Regions from separate parts of the Homo sapiens genome. Here region 1 is linked to region 2. Evidence: promoter capture Hi-C in 16 types of primary human blood cells and fetal thymus (Javierre and others, 2016). All regions are on one chromosome and are shown on one strand. The core of a region is centred on a gene start or on the middle of the fragment in contact, and the rest is flanking DNA. Distances in the headings are between cores, read along the strand shown.

Region 1 (2,837 bases), core at 171-2,670, 260 kb after region 2:
AGAGAGGAATGGCTGGGTGCGGAGGCTCATGCCTGTAATCCCAGCACTTTGAGAGGCTCAGGCAGGCGGATCATGAGGTCAGGAGATTGAGACCATCCTGGCTAACATGGTGAAACCCCATCTCTACTCAAAATAAAAAAAACTAGCCAGGAGTGGTGGCGGGCACCTGTAGTCCCAGCTACTCAGGAGGCTGAGGCAGGAGAATGGCATGAACCCAGGAGGTGGAGCTTGCAGTAAGCCGAGATTGCACCACTGCACTCCAGCCTGGGTGATAGAGCAAGACTCTGTCTCAAAAAAAAAAAAAAAAAAAAAAATCACTAGAAAGGAATGTCTGGGTAACCATAAGGGGTTGTGGAGACCAAGGCTTTATCATGCAGACAAAGACTCCAGGTAGCAGGATACAGAGAGAATAGACTGTAAATGTTTCTTCTCAGATGTACAGAGTCTGTTCTATCCATAATTCCAAAAGGGCAGAGGGGATAATGAGGCATGTCCAGCTCCCTCTTCCCATCATGGCCTGAACTTGTTTTTCAGCTTAACTTTGGAATGCCCTTGGCCAAGAGGAGGGGTCCCTTTAGATGGCTGTGGGGGTCTTAGAATTTTATTTTTGGTTTGCAGAGAGGAAAGATTGCTGTAAAAAAATAATGAGGCCAGGCGCAGTGGCTCACGCTTGTAATTCCAGCCTTTTGGGAGGCTGAAGCAGGCAGATTATGAGGTCAAGAGATCAAGACCATCCTGGCCAACATGGTGAAACCCCATCTCTACTAAAAATATAAAAAATTAGCCAGGCATGGTGGCTCACGCCTGTAGTCCAGCTACTCGGGAGGCTGAGGCAGGAGAACCACTTGAACCCAGGAAGCAGAGGTTGCAGTGAGCCGAGATCATGCCACTGCACTCCAACCTGGTGACAAAGTGAGATTCTATCTCAAAAAAACAGAAAATGGCACCGATTAAAAAAAAAGAATGAAATAACATAAACATCAAAAAACTTCTAAAATTATCAAATAGCTTCTAAAATTATGCAGAAATGAAAAACTCATTAGGATAGACGATAGAGTGAAGAGATATCTCCCAAAAGACAAAAAGGTGGAAAGGAGAAAAATATGTTAGCAGACATGTCCAGAAGGTATAATATTTAAACAAAAGGAATTTCAGAAAGGGGACCTGAGAAAATGATGAAAGGAACAATTGACTAAAAATCCCAAAACTGAAGGATCCACATTGAAAGGAAAATAATTACCAACCTATAAGTCTTTACCCAGCAAAGCTACCAATTATGTGTAAAGGTCAAATGAAGATATTGTCAGACATGCAAGATGTCAAAAGTCTATCTTCCAGGCACTGTTTCTCATGAAAACAGCAGAGATGGGTTGGTCCCCAATAAGCAGGGTAAACAGAGAAAGAGATACAGGGGACAGAGTACACAGGAGATCCAACCCAGGAGACAGGCAAAGAGAATCTCCACAATGATGTGATGGAAGGTCCCAGATGTCAACTAAGCAGCAGGCTGGGAGAACACCCACCTCTGACAGGCTGGTTAGGGGTTTCTTCAGGAAAATGAAACATATAGTATATCTGTCTGAACACCTTCTGGGGAAATCTAGACAATTGGCAGAGAGCTTGGCATTGGATTATTGGAAAATCCACAGAAAACGAGAGAAATGAAAGACCCAGGACAGTTATGAATTGCATGGAAGATGAAAGGCTGGGCCATCATAGTATGCAGAAAAGTAATCGTGGCCAGGTGCAGTGGCTCATGCCTGCAATCCCAACACTTTGGGAGGCTGAGGTGAGTGGATCATTTGAGGTCAGGAGTTTGAGACCAGCCTGGCCAATACGGTAAAACCCCGTTTCCACTAAAAATACAAAAATTAACTGGGCATGGTGGTGCATGCCTGTAATCCCAGCTACTTAGGAGGCTGAGGCAGGAGAATCACTTGAACTGGAGAAGTGGAGGTTGCAGTGAGCTGAGATCATGCCATTGCACCCAGCCTGGGTGACAGAGTGAGACCCTGTCCCAAGGGGAAAAAAAAAGAAAGAAAAAGTAATCATAGGACACTGCACGTTCCTGCTATAAAAGCACTTACATAGGGATTGTAACATAAACCTGGTGGTGATCTCACCAAAATCTTCACCATGTTTTGGGAGGAAAGAGAATGGGGGAAGAGCAGTGAGAAGAAAAAAGAGCTAAATCCATCTTATTCACAGTAGGAAACCAGGAGATAGTGCCCAACACTACACAATATAGAAATAGCTGCAAGATTATTATATAAAGCAAAGAGATCAATACCACAAGAATGGGCTAAAATCTTGAAAGTTCTTGCCTCCAGGGATGAGAAAGAGGGAGGACGGTTTCCAATAACAAGCCTCATAGACCTATCAGGGTCTTCAAATTTGGTATATGTATAAATTGGATAAAAACTAAAACAAATTATCCCTTTTTTAACTTGGGCAATGGAACTAAAGGCTTTCTGAAATTGCCTTTACCTATAACAGTGCAGGGCTCAAAGTGATTTCTTATTTTTAGGAAACACAATAGGCAGTTTTCTTGAACTCTGAGGTCTTCTGGCATCCCTTGCTGTTTGTGAAATGACTCCCTTAAGTGAAGAAATAGATCAGAGTCACATTCCCTGTGTATTGAGTTTGGGTGCGTTTTGGCATGTCCCTGCCACTGAGCCCTGTGAATCGATGTAAAGCACAGGACTAATGAGATCCTGGTGCACATCAGCTGCCCCTCAGTCACCCCCAACTCCTTCCCTAGACAGGCCTTGGACTCCAGCAAATCAAGGGCAGCTCATGCCCCTTGCTGGGGGCTCTCCTAGCCCCCTCCTCCATCA
Region 2 (2,700 bases), core at 36-2,535:
ATCAGAGGAAAAAAGAAAGGCCCCCACTCCTGATGCCAAAGTGGGATAAACCAAGTGCCTCCATAAACCTAAGCATGCTGTTCCAGCAACAAGAGGGATGCGGGTATCTCATGTTAGAAAAGTACAGCGGAGTCCTGCATCTGTCCATCTTGGGAGCTGCAGGGGCAGGGCCAGTGTGGGGAGCAGCTGGATCCCAGTGCAGGGCTATGAGGCTAGAACTCCTATATGAGCCTTCCCACTGCTCAGCGGAAGGAAGAGCGGTCCCCTTCCCCACCCGCATTCCCGATCAGCAGAGCAGGCATCATCCCAGGCGCACAAATGCTCAGGAAAACCACCAGCGAGGTTACCCGGAGGCAGGGGACCCAGCCAGGTACGTACGCTCCTGAGTAGCCAAGAAAAACGCAATTTAGCAACCTTCAGTCGTGAGTCTCCGTCCACACCTACGAAGACGCAAAGCTCTACACTAGGTAATTTTCTGGACAAAATACATACGTTTTGCTTTTGCCTCTGCCTCTGTTCAAGTTCACCAAGAGACGGAGCAAACCCTCCGCTGACCGGAAGCCTCTCTTGGTAGCGGAACGAGAGGGAGCTGCTTCTGGGTAAACGTCGCCGCCTAGGAGGGAAGCTGTGCGCACCCCACACCCTGCCCTCGCCCCCTCCCCGGGACCAACCGCAGCGCCCTCCCGGGTGACGGACGGGCTCTCAGGACTCCGGAGGGGGACGCGGCTCGTGCGGCGCCTCGCGCACCCCCACCCCATCCCGGCCGCGCCGAGCGCCGCCCCCGCCCCCCCACAACCCCTGCACGCACCCGCTCACTCTCCCCTGCCCCGGCCGAGCCGCCCCGGGCCCCCGGGAAGGTGCCCCCGGCAAGCCCGCCCTGCAGCCGGAGCAGGTGCAGCCCCGCCGCGCTCCCAACCGCGTCTGCACAAACTTGTTTGCCCGCGGCAAGGGGAACACCCTGCTCGCAGCCCGCGCGGGGGTCCGGCTGGAGCGCCGAGAGACAGGACTCACCCCGCGATCGCGGCCGGCTGGGGCGCCCGCACCCGCGCCCATGGCCCGCCTTCCCCGGGCGCCGAGCCCGCAGCCCCCCGCAGTGCCCGGAGCCCAGAAGCCCCGGCGCCCGCACGTCTCCGGCCGCCCGCGGCAAGCGGACCCACGCGCCCGGGCACAGGGCGCCGCCGCCTGGCTCCCCGGGGCTGCTGGCGTCCGGGCTGAACGGCGGGGCGGGCGGGCGGGCGCGGAGCCGGGGCGGGCAGCGGGCGGGCGAGCGGGCGCCGGGCTCTGCACATGCTCACTCGCGCGGCCCGGGGACAGCGGCCGGCCGCCGCCGGGTCCTAGAGGCGCCGGTGCGCACCTCCCGCCGCCCGGGGGAGGGGTCGCGGCTCCGCCGGAGGGGGCCCACGCCCTGCCCCGGCCCGCGAGAACACGCGCGCGGGGCGGGCCACACGCGCCACTGCCGAGCAGAGACGCCGCCACCCACTCTGATACACACACACACACACACACACACCAGTCACCCAGAGCCACAGCCTTTCACCGGGGCCCCACGGGCTCTAACACACGCACCATGACGCTCACACCCAGACACAGACCCACAAACACACGGGGCACTGCCGCGCAGAGGAGAGCACGCCGCCACTCTCCCATGCAGACTCACAGCGACAGCCGCACACTGCCTGACACACACATCCCGAATCACTGCTTCCCAGAGACACCGACACCCACACTCACACACACACTCTCTGGGCTCTGCCCCACTCACCCAGAAGCAGACTGGGCCACTGTGACAGGCACGCACACGTACACACACAGCCACACAGTTTAGAGTGCACTCTAATACACACACACACCACACACGCACGCACACACACACACACACACACACACACCGGATCACCGTCCCATGCAGAGCTAGAGACAGACGGTCACAGCTTCACACACATTCACACTCAGAAACAAGCACCTGCTGGAACACAGACACTCTCACACAATCTGAGACAGACCTACACAGAATTGCAGCCCTACAAATACCCTGACACCAGCTCCCGCGTCTACACACTCGGGGGTCGGCCGCCGGCTTATCATACTGCTCCACACCGCACACAGTGACAAACCCACGCCTTGACATAGTTGCCCACAGAAGCAATGTCACACACTGGTGTCTACTAACAGACACACTCTCAGAGGGGCATACTGGGCATTGACCCACAGGCTCTCTCTCTCTCTCTCTCTCTCACACACACACACACACACACACACACACACACACACACGCACCGAGGTGGAAAGAGGCTGAACAGTCACACAAGTCTATACACAATCCCCCTCTTTAAATAAAGGCTGGATCCAAACCTAAAGATTTTTCCCAGGGAGGAGCCCCACCCTGTTCCCCCAAAGCCGCCAAGTCACAGCATCTGCCCTGCTCTGCCATGTGCACCGGTGGACCCTGTCCTCACCCGGAGCTGGCTGCTAAGATGCTCCCAGAAGCTGAGGACAGCAGAGGCAGCAGGAGCAGGTGGTGGTGCCTCTTACTCCGTCTTCCTAAAAGGGAGTTTCATGCCTCCGACTCCCGCTAGGGGCAGAGCTGCTTGGCCTGGCTCCGAGGAGCTGGCTTGCAACAGGTGCAGGTGGCAGGGAAAGCGTTTGCCTGGGGACCAGTCACAGTCCCTCCTTACGCGGGTCAGTCAGGTGGCGCCCAGA

The links. Contacts are between HindIII fragments. The CHiCAGO score rates a contact against its expected background, and 5 or more counts as called.
Region 1: a contact is called between a fragment that was not itself captured here and the fragment with the promoter of WSCD1 in region 2, in 1 of 17 cell types (endothelial precursors). The highest score is 8.1, in endothelial precursors.

The regions. Positions count from the first base shown.
Region 1 is chr17:5,809,895-5,812,731 of GRCh38, reverse strand. All of the region lies in intron 1 of LOC339166 (a long non-coding RNA gene), which reads right to left. Among named protein-coding and RNA genes, the nearest start is that of NLRP1, 230 kb to the right of the region's middle. The HindIII fragment of the contact is 3,306 bases long and covers 1-2,837 here.
Region 2 is chr17:6,068,964-6,071,663 of GRCh38, reverse strand. WSCD1 (WSC domain containing 1) reads right to left here and starts at 1,285. Exons shown (of 9, transcript NM_015253.2): 1 at 1,012-1,285. RefSeq lists an enhancer at 1,218-2,049. The HindIII fragment of the contact is 6,207 bases long and covers 1-2,700 here.